Linked DNA regions of Homo sapiens: region 2 is linked to region 1. The links are contacts of gene promoters, found by promoter capture Hi-C in human tissues and cell types (Jung and others, 2019). All regions are on one chromosome and are shown on one strand. The core of a region is centred on a gene start or on the middle of the fragment in contact, and the rest is flanking DNA. Distances in the headings are between cores, read along the strand shown. Region 1 holds the start of TACO1 (translational activator of cytochrome c oxidase I). Region 2 overlaps MAP3K3 (mitogen-activated protein kinase kinase kinase 3).

Region 1 (5,592 bases), core at 334-2,833:
AAGCAAACAAATACCAGGCATGAGCTGAGGGGGTAAATTAACATTAACTGAATGCCTATGATGTGCCATAAACCATAAACTACCTCAAGGTGGGTATTATCCTTGTTTCAGAGAAACTCAAGTTAAGCTACTTGTTCAAGGTTAGTCAGTGACAGAAACCAGTCTTCCTGACTCCAAAGTCCACAGTTTCTCTCTCTTTTTTTTTTTTTTTTTTTGAGATGGAGTCTTGCTCTGTCACCCAGGCTGGATGGAGTACAGTAGAGCAATCTCGCTTACTGCAGCCTTCAACTCCTGGGTTCAAGCAATTCTCCTGCTTCAGCCTCCCGAGTAGCCAGCATTACAGGCATGCACCACCATGCCCAGCTGTTTTTTTTTTTTTTTTTTTTTGTTATTTTTAGTAGACACAGGGTTTCCCCATGTTGGCCAGGCTAGTCCTGAACTCCTGACCTCAAGTGATCTGCCTGCCTCTGGCCTGGGATTACAGGCTGTGCCACTGCGCCCAGTCCAAAGTCCATGCTTTCTACAGGACTTTTCCTTTGCTCCTACAGATGTCTGGCCCTAAACAGAAAAAAAGCCTTTTCAGTGTGGCGACCTAAGGGAGAAAAGACATGGCTGCAAATCTACCTTCCAAGGAAATGTGTCTTGGGGAAACATTAATGAAGCAAACTAAGGCCTAAGCTAAGGCCTAAGCACTTAAGTAATAGCTTTACTCAGTGCCCCTGCCACAACCAATAAGGTACTTGAGGCGACTTCAGAGGGGTTGATTTGTCTCTTCAGGAGAGACACACATCTGCCCTGACTCTTAGGGCTTGTTTCTATTAAGTACCCAGCTAGATTAGGATGAAGTCACTTCTACCTTACCGGCTTATCTTCTTAAGAGCAGCTCCCTCTCTGACAAACTGGCCAGATGCTCAGCGTCTGGAAAAGTGAGTGAGAACCTCCAACGTAGGGTAGGTGTTTTGAGGATTTATGAGGTGGGCAATGGTGGGTACTGGGGAAGGAAAACAAAGTGAAGGGCCGGAGATCTAGGTGGGCCCAATTCCGAGAGGCAAGCGAGGCTGCGGGCACTGAGAGGGCAGCGGCAGCCAGTGCTGGGTGACCGTCAGGGTCTCACCTTTCACTGCCAGGCGGATGTTCAAACAGAGTTTGGAGAAGATGCGACTCCTTTCGACGTCCTTCGGACCCTTGATGTGCCTGACTTTGGACCACTTGTTGTGCCCGGCGGGGACAGCCGCGGTAAAGTGCAGCGTCCTGCCCGGAGCGGCACCGCAGCCCCGGGGCTCGGGGTGGGAGGGCCGGGGGTCGCGCGGAGGAGCCGCCCTGACCCCGGGGCCTCGTGCCAGCAAGCATCGGGCAGCGGCCCTGCTTAGGCTGGCAGCAGCCCAAGCCGACATCGGTCCCGACCCTGGGGTTCAAGCTGCTAGCAGCAGCGGCCAACGCCGGCGCGTCTCTTCCACTGCCGGAACAAGCAGTTCCGGACCCCGCGGCCGCCTGTGCCGGTCACCTGAGATCCAAAGGCTTGGGCCCGCCCGGGGCGGCTCAACAGCTAATGACCCTACACTGTCCCCGCGGCACCCGGGACTGGGGGCCCTTGATGGCGTAGCACACTTCCTTTACCGGGTTCGCTCCAAAAACACGTCCCCACTGCCCGCAAAGTCCGTTCCGTGGCTGCACGGTACTCGCTCCTCTCTTGCCCTTGAGCAGATCTAGTTAGTGCTCAAGCCCTCACGGTTGCCTAGAGAGCGCCGGACTTTGTTTCTCATAATGTTTTAGTGGAGACACATCTGAGTTATGAAACTGACTTTGCTTCCAAATTGCTGCCTAAATCTGAGCAAGTCCAGAATGATATTTTGTTGTTGCCTCATTGTACTGGGAAAGAAACTGCTGCCAGAGAAGTGAATTGCCCAAATGTTTAATCTCTCTGAACGTCTTCCCTATTTATAAATAAGGATCTAATATTTGCTTTATCAACATAGGAAAGTTAGAAACACAAAATGAGCCCTTAGAGCTTTAAAGTAATAAAGTTTTATGTAAATAGCCACAGTGCACTTAAGCCCCTAGATGCAAGAGATGGTTTGGGACAGACTCAGATGAGTCACAGGCCTTTGGGAGAGGGAGAATGATCAGACAAGCCCTTTGGAGCTAAACTCCCCTCTTCATTTTCTCTCTGCTGTCTCGAAAGAGAAAACCGAATCCGTTAGAAGATGGAGAGAAACAAAGCGGCAGCTGCTGAAAAGCTTTGTAGTGACTCCCATGCTGGTGAGATTAAGTCCAAAGGGCATGACATATCAGGTAGAGAAGCAGGACAGCCGGGCGCGGTGGCTCACGCCTGTAATCCCAGCACTTTGGGAGGCTGAGGCAGACGGATCGCTAGGTCAGGAGTGCCAGACCAGTCTGACCAACATGGTGAAACCCCGTCTCTACTAAAAATACAAAAAAATTAGCCGGCCGTGGTGGCGCGCGCCTGTAATGCCAGCTACTCAGAAGGATGAGGCAGGAGAATCGCTTGAACCCGGGAAGAGGAGGTTGCAGTGAGCCGAGATCGCGCCACTGCACTCCAGCCTGTGCGACAGAGCGAGAATCCAACTCAAAAAAAAAAAAAAAAAAGAGAGAGAGAGAGAGAGAGAAGCAGGACAGTGTGAAGTCCAAGTTTGTGCCCTCTGCAGTTAGACTGGGTGGCTTCAAACCCTGGTTGTTCCATTTTCTAGTGTATCCTTGGGCAAGTTCCTTTACTTTCCTGTTTCAGTTTCCTTACCATAGAATGGCCTTGTGAGGACTAAATGGGATAATGGATGCAAAGCACAAAAGCATAGATTTTTTATTTTTTATTATATAAGAACCTCCATGGGGCTGGGTGCGGTGGCTCACGCCTGTAATCCTAGCACTTTGGGAGGCCGAGGCTGGCAGATCACTTGAGGTCAGGAGTTCAAGACCAGCCTGGTCAACATGGTGAAACCCCGTCTCTACTAAAAATACAAAAATTAGCCAGGTGCGGTGGGTGCCCATAGCCCTTCATACATGCTTGCACCTTAGCACTTACCTTTTAAAAAAATATCAAAATGTTTATATCTGTTTCTACCGTAATACTAAATTCTCTGAGAGTAGGACTGTACTTCCTATGCCCAACACAGTTCTCATTTTTTAAAAAATTAAGTTTTGACATATTTCACAGATCACACAGATCACCAATTCAAAGTGTACAATGTGTTATAGAATATTCAGAGCTGTGCACAATTGATTTTACATTTTCATCATCCCCAAAAGAAGTCCTGTACCCATTAGCAATCATTCCCTATTTCCCCCCAATTCCCACAGCCCTAGGCAATCACCAATTTACTTCTGTCTCTGTGGGTTTGCCTCTTCTGGACATTTAATATGAATGGGCCCACACACTATGTGGCCTTTGGTAACTGGCTTCTTTCACTTAGCATGATGTTTTCAGGATTCTTGCATGTTGTAGCATGTATCAGTATTTCATTTCTATTGCCAAATAATATTCCATTGTATGAATATACCACGTTTTATTTATCTGTTCATCAGGCAATGGACATGTGGTTGTTTCCACCTTCTATGATGAATAATGAGGCTGTGAACATTCATGTACACATTGCTGTGTGGACCTATGTTTTCACTTCTTTTAGTTATATACCTAGGAGTGGAATTGCTGGGTCATATCATAACTATGTTTAACCTTTTGTGGGATTGCCAGACTGTCTTCTAAAGTGGTTGTATCATTTTACATTCCCACCAGCAATATATGAGGGTTTAATTTCTCCATATCATGAATTTTTTTTTTTTTTTTTTGCTTTGTTACCCAGGCTAGAGTCCAGTGGAGCAATCATAGCTGACTGCAGCATAGAACTCCTGGGCTCAAGTGATCTTCCCATCTCAGTCTCCCAAGTAGATGAGATTACAGGTGTGAGCCACTGGCTAAATTTGTTATTCTTTTTGACTATAGTTATCACCATCCTTGTGGGTGAGAAGTATTATCTCATTGTGGTTTTGATTGTATTTCCTGAATGACTACTAATGGTAAGCATCTTTTCATGTGCTTATCAGCCATTCATATATAGTATTACTTTTTGCAATTTAAAAATAGTTTATTCAGGCCAGGCATGGTGGCTCACACCTGTAATCCCAGCACTTTGGAAGGCCGATTTGGGGCAGATAATGAGGTCAGGAGATCGAGACCATCTTGGCTAACACGGTGAAACCCCGTCTCTACTAATAATACAAAAAATTAGCTAGGTGTGGTGGCACGCGCCTGTAGTCCCAGCTACTCAGGAGGCTGAGGCAGGAGAATCGCTTGAACCCAGGAGGCGGAGGTTGCAGTGAGCCGAGATCGCGCCACTGCACTTGAGCCTTGGTGACAGAGCGAGACTCCATCTCAAAAAAAAAGAAAAAAATATATATGTAATATTTACTTTGAGAAGCAAAAATCAAATTAATGGAATTTGTAATCACAAATAAGTGTAGAGGCTAAAACAAGGTTTGAGACTGCCCTAGTCCAGTCAGCCTGAGACCAGCAAGGGAAACCTATAGTCTCACAGAGTTAGGCTTATCAACTCACTGCAACAAGGGAGACTGCACACCAGAGGAATGGTGAAGTGTCTTACCGAAGAAAAAACTGGTCATAGAATTATGGGGAAGGGTGGAAGTTAGGTGAAAAATTAGAGTTAGGCTCAAAGAAACACAGACCTGTGTGAAAGGCGGATTAAGATCAGCTGGACTACCAAGTGGACCCAGGGGATCAGTTTCCCTGGAAAGTACAAAGTCAAGGTAAATGTGGACTGTTGTGTTCAGAAGCCCCTGCTCTGAAGCACAATACCTGGCCTGGAAATCAAGGCTGCTTCTCTGTCAGAGTGACTCAGCTCCTCCAAGCAAGACTGACTATAAGCCTTAATTCTCACAAATACAATTGCAAACAGCAAACTTTGTCAGCCTATGATTTTGGAGAACGAAATTTCTCAGTGAATTTTTTTAAAACAGTAGTCACTCAGGGAGTTTTGACACTTTATGTTGCCAAAAAAAGAAAAAAAAATTGCAGTGTGTTCTTGATAGAGGTACTATATCCTGTTAACTGTGCAGCTGGTTTTATCTGTCTGTGCATCTGTGATGAATGGCAGGGCAGATTTTAACTCTCAGTCTGAGTTAATAGCCACCTTTCAAGATAAATTCATAGTTGACTGAACCATCTCTAGACGCCTGGCTGTCAGGCTCACTGAAATCACTTAAGTAACAATGAGCCTTGGAAGCTAAAGACTGGCTACAAATATCATTCCATTAGGTTTGACCATGTGTTGTCCAGTACTAACAGCTCTCAATGAATGAGATTACATTAGTTATTAGTCCAGATACTTAGCCGATTTGCTAGTATGGCTGAGACATAATTATTCACTACTTCACTTCCTTTTCCAGGGTACACAGGAAGACTACATTTCTTGACTTGACCTTCCTTGCAGTTGGCAGATAGGAGCAAAAGTGAGTAAGCCACTTCCCGGCCCATCCTGAAAAATGTACTCCCTCCCACCCCCCATAAGCAACCTGGAGGTCACACGTTTATTTTTATTTTTTGAGATGGAGTCTTGCTCT
Region 2 (5,547 bases), core at 2,372-4,871, 80 kb before region 1:
AACTGCAAATGTTGCTAAGGATATAGGATAGCCAAAGTGGATGAAACCAACATCGGAGAGAATTGCTTTAAATCCATCAGATGCATATTTGGCAAATTTAGACTAGTTAACAGAAAAAGACAAAATGGACAAATAAATAACATGGCAGGTGTGGTGGAGGAAGAATACCAAAGATTCACAAGAGGCCTTGGGGAAAACTGCTGAGTCCTGTGAACGCTCTTGTAAAAAATGACGTTCTTTATGGTTAGAAGTCAAGCAGGGAGTGAAGGACGTTACATTGTGCTAGCATTTTGTTGTTGGTGCTGTTGTTCGAGACAGGGTCTCATTCTGTCACCTAAGCTGGAGTGCAATTCACTGCAGCCTGGGCTCAAGTGATCCTCCCACCTCAGCCTCCCGAGTAGCTGGGACTACAGGCAGGTGTGCCACTATGCCCAGCTAATTAAATTTTTTTTTTTTGTAGAGACAGGGTTTTGCTATGTTGCCCAGGCTGGTCTTGAACTCCTGACCTCAAGCAATCCTCCTGCCTTGGCCTCCCAAAGTGCTGGGATTACAGCTATGAGCCACTGCGACCGGACTGACATAATTTTTGTTGGAAAAATTAGGCCAAAAAATTAACATGAATCATGCTTTGCTCATTCTAAAAATTAGTAAATAGATGCAATTATTGCTTAAACCTGATTAAAGAAAAAACAAAACTTATCATATTTTCACTTTTCAGTAAAGTCACACTGGAATATTCTTTTATTACATACTATGCAGTGTTCGTTCCTGTTAAGCAGATTGATCTCAAATGGCCTGTTACCAGGAGCAATTCTCTTCAGCTAAAGAGGCAGGCGCTGGGGGAGGACCTTGGCAATCCCCAACCACTGCCTTCCTTGGCCTCTTTCTAAAAGTCTGTCCTCACTGGGAGTCAAATCCTCCCAGGCCTTCCAGGGCCATGCAGGCAAAGTAAAAAAGTGAAGGGGGCAGAGTATAGGACCATGGCGAGGGACATAGACTGAGGGCAATCAAGCTCATCTGCAATCTCTGGGATTTTACACCCAAGTCACCCCTAGAACAGCTGATGTCCAGAAGTGCCCTGGTTAGAGAAACCAGAAAGGATGGTCAGTAAAATGCCCAAAAAGGAAATCTGCAGCTAATGGCACTCCAGGTCACTACTCCAAACATGAATTTATCTGGAAGGCAGGAGTATAGAAGGAAGAAGAGTACAAAGGGCTTCTCATAGCCTACATAGTTTGAATAATGAAAGAAAAGTTACAAGAATCAGCTTTTTATAAGATCTCCCATGTGACAGCACAGGCCCTTCTGTTGGACATTTTCCCCTTAAGAAATTTCCCCTTCTCAGGCCAAGCCCAGAAAGTGTAAGAGCAGCCTTTTCTTTTACATCAAAGCAAGTTTATTGAAAAGACCAGAATGAAGCTAGAGATCTCATGCTTGGTGAGTTCACTAAGCCAAATTGCCATTTGCATCAAGTAAGCCACCAATTTAAAAGCTAGCCACTAAAATGGCTGAGCCACTGTGGTAGACACACCCTAAGGTGATTGCTCCCTCTTCCAATTAGTCCCAATGAACTGCCTTTCCCTTTAGTGCAAGTAGAACCTGTGACGTGAGTCTAGCCAATAGACTATGGCAAAGAGGATAGAATATTCATTCCTATGATTATGTGATGTTTTATGACTCCATCTTTGCAGATTGGAGCAAAAGATTCTCCTGCTGGCTTTGAAGAAGCTGCCATGTTGTGAGAGGGCCCCATGGCAAGGAACTGCAGGTGGCCTCTAGGAAGGGAACTCAGAGAAGCCCTTGGGTGACATTCAGAAGAAAAGAGGAACCACAGTCCTACAGCCACAAAAAAACTGAATTCTGGCAACAACCATCTGAGCTTAGAAAAGAGCCTCAAACTCAAGAAAGGCAGGCAGCCTGGCTGACACCTTGATCGCAGTCTTGTGTGACCCTCAGCAGAGGACCCATTTGAGTCATGCCTGGACTCCTCACCCAGGGAAACTGGAAAATGATAAATGTATATTGTTTTAAGCCTCTAGGTTTGTGGTAATTTGTTATGGAGCAATAGATAACTAATACAACTGTCTACCATCATAAATGATCAGCCTAACCAATCCTACAGTGTAATTTTGATATGGTTTACTCCTTACCTTTCATCAAGAAACAGCAAAACTAAAATATATCCAATGAAAAACATAACCTGTCACTTTAGAACCAGTCGTATGTTAAAACACTACTGAAATGAGCTGGGCGTGGTGGTGCCTGCCTGTAGGAACAATGAGAGGACCACGATGAAGAAAAATCTGTTAAATCCTCACCCAACAACAAGGAAACTATGTAGTTTAGATCCTTTAGATCCCATCTTTGGCAGAAATTGTTATTTGGCCCTTAAAAAGGGACAATCCATATTTGGGCAGGCCTGGTTTATAAAAGAGCTTTCAAATGGGGTTCATGTCCCTCAGTTCTGCACTGTGACTACTAAGAACCCCTTGTTATGAGCTTGGTCTGCTGATACAGGCCACAGGCATATCCCAGCCCCCCTATACTCACGCACTGCTCGCTGGTCTCTGGGATGAACTCCCCCTCACTGTTGATGCTGGTGTAGGACCCCTGCCGGGCAATGTGCTGCTGCCGCTCAGGAACATAGCCAGGGGGAGGTGAGCTTCGGCCAGGGTTCTGGGAGCCTAGAGCACATAAAGGAGGCTTTCAACAACAGAGCCCAGGGTGTGTGGCCCAAGAGGAGCAGGCATGGGGCCAACTATTAGGCCCTAGAGGTCAGGAATGTGACTCAGATGGGTCATGGCACCAACGTCCAGCATGTGCCAGCTCCCTCAGGCAAACAAAGTCCCTTCCTAATAGGAAACAAACTCCAGAGATGGAGCAGGCACTACGGCATATCCGACCAAAAAAACCTTGACACAAAACAGAAACCAGAATAACCCCTAGGAGACCATTTTAGCTGGCAATCAGACTAGCTTTTAAAAAAATTCTTATATATAATTACTCCTTCATAATGTCACCTTCTCTCTTCCTCTAGAGCACTAATGCCATTTCCTCCCATCAGCTCAATACATCAGCTTAGTCCTCTTTAGTTTTGGGTCCAAGCAGTATTTTGAGGGTGGGGACCAGGGAAAGGTAACTGAATATACCTGTGCATCTCTCTCTGTTGCCCTGTTCCCCCAGCCAGTGTCTCCCCTTATTTGTTCTCTACTTGTATCAGGTAAAAAGGCCTTCGTGATGGTCTGGCCAGGATCAAAAGGCAGGCTTCTCCATTCCTACCCACTCCCACACTTCCTGGCTTATGAGTAATGATATTACCTTTTTTTTTTTTTTTTTTAAATTGAGACAGGGTCTCACTATGTTGCTCAGGTTGGTCTGAGTAATGATATTATCTTGCATTTATGTGGTGCTTTACTTTTTGTTACACATTCACAGTAATTAACCTCATTTGATTTTCAACATCTCTACAACAGAGGTTTGGCAAATATTTTTTGAGTGGCTGCTAAGTGGCAATCATTCCACAAGGTATTTTTACATTTGTTACTTCACTTAATCCTTTCAACAATCCTGAGAGGTAAGCATTTGCTTTACTTAACAGAGGAGGAGACGGAGACTCAAGGAACTTAAATCTTAAAAAAAAAAAAAACCCAAAACACCCAAAAACAATTATTTATGTTTTACAGATAAGAGACTATAAAACCAATTAACAGGTACTTTCACCACATCAGCTTGTAAGATGAAATGGTTTATCATCCTAATGTTAGTGAATGACAGAGGTGTGCAGTCTTACAAATGACACACTTTGTAAGTCACTGAGCAATGTTTTTCTGCCATAAGGGATTTTGAGTCCGAGAAATCAGGTCCTCCTTCCTCCTAGCCCAAGAGCTTTTTCTGACTGGCTGTGTTGCTTTCCATGATCAGAGAAGACAAAAATGAGGCCAAAAGTTTGCATCTTTTTTCCTTCCTAAGCTCACCAAACCAGAAGAGCCAATTTTCAGAAGGTTTAAAAAAAGCTTTAACTATACCCACACAAATATTTCTTGTAGCTTCAAAACTTAAACGTAAGACTCTTATCCTGAACCCTTTTCCTGTTCTGAAGGGAACAAATTTATCCTGTTGTTTAGAAAACCAGAGACACAAGAGCCCTCCATTCCCTTATCTACCACCCCTTACCTCTCTCCCACGACCCAGCAATTCCCAGACACCAGGAATAGAGTAGTACCATCCCTCAACAATGCAGGTTACTTTCCTTGCTGGCTGGTTTCTCCAGTCTAGTTCAGGGGCTGTAGCACTAGGTTTTCTGAAATGGAACTGCAGGCAAGATGCTCTGTGGAAATGGCTAAGGAAGCAAGAGAGACCAAGTTTGGTAGCTGGAGACCTAGGGAAGTACCTGACTCATTCTATTCTGTTTTGTTGTTTTGTTTTGTTTCAGAGACAGGGTCTCACTCTGTTGCCCAGGCTAGTCTTGAGCTCCTGGGCTCAGGCAATCCTCCCCCTTCAGCTACAGGCAGGTGCCACCATGCCTGGCTTCTCTCCTTTCTTGATGATAGATCCCTAGTCCAGACCAGTTTTAGATGGAAAATCTGAGATACACAGTTTTAGTTTTATGTATGTGTGTGTGTATACATGTTTATACATATATGTATATATATTTCCTATTGCTCAAAAACTCATGTGTGGCCAGGTGCAGTGGCTCACACCTATTATCCCGACACTTCGAGAGGCAGGAGAAATGCTTGAGGCCAGGAGTTTGAGACCAGCATGGGCAACATGGTGAGACCCCATCTCTACAAAAAATATTTTAAAAATTAGCCAGGCGCACACTTGTGGACCCAGCTACTTGGAAGACTGAGACAGGAGGACTGCTTGAGCCTGGGAGGTTGAGGCCGCAGTGAGCCGTGTTTGGACCACTGCACTCCAGCATAGGTGATAGAGTGCGACCCTGTCTCATAGACAAAACAACAAAGCTCATGTGGAGCCAGGAGCACTCAGCCTGTACCTGGAAGTAGAGGTAGTGCACCAGGGACTAAGCATCTACAGCAGAGGGTGCTCAAGAGCCCAGTCCAGGGTCTTAGAACATCCCGGAAAAGAGGGTGGGCCTGACAGACTGATGGAGCTCAACAAACTCCCTGAGCCAGAGAGACTCCCACTATTTCAAAGACCCTCAGAAGGAAGAAAAATACTTAATGGAAAAAAAGAATGGCGGGGAGGCTTGCTCTGTGTGTGTGTGTGCACTTTTAGGAACAGGGTCTCGCTATGTTGCCTAGGCTGGTCTCAAGCCTTGGCCTCCCAAAGTGCTGGGATTAAAGGCATGGGCCCCCATGCCTGGCCAGAGGGTTGCTTTTTGAAAGACATTTTCTAAGAAGCTTAAACTATTGTTTTTCAATGACCTTTAAGAAACTGACACTGACTCTTTTTTTTGAGACGGAGTCTTGCTCTGTTGCCCAGGCTGGAGTGCAGTGGTACAATCTTGGCTCAAGGCAACCTCCGCCTCCTGGGTTCAAGCAATTTTCTGCCTCAGCCTCCTGAATAGCTGGGATTACAGGT

What was found. The method cuts DNA at HindIII sites, captures the fragments that hold promoters and counts their contacts. A contact is called where the count stands out against the background at its distance.
Region 2: a contact is called between a fragment that was not itself captured here and the fragment with the promoter of TACO1 in region 1, in 4 of the 25 tissues and cell types used here (dorsolateral prefrontal cortex, hippocampus, liver and 1 more).

The regions. Positions count from the first base shown.
Region 1 is chr17:63,596,886-63,602,477 of GRCh38, reverse strand. TACO1 (translational activator of cytochrome c oxidase I) reads right to left here and starts at 1,583. Exons shown (of 5, transcript NM_016360.4): 1 at 1,115-1,583. The coding sequence starts at 1,394. The HindIII fragment of the contact is 17,557 bases long and covers 1-4,066 here.
Region 2 is chr17:63,678,903-63,684,449 of GRCh38, reverse strand. MAP3K3 (mitogen-activated protein kinase kinase kinase 3) reads right to left here. Exons shown (of 16, transcript NM_002401.5): 7 at 2,551-2,684. It overlaps LOC101927898 (a long non-coding RNA gene), which reads left to right. Exons shown (of 3, transcript XR_243740.4): 3 at 1,692-2,114. Among named protein-coding and RNA genes, the nearest start is that of LIMD2, 18 kb to the left of the region's middle. The HindIII fragment of the contact is 5,321 bases long and covers 961-5,547 here.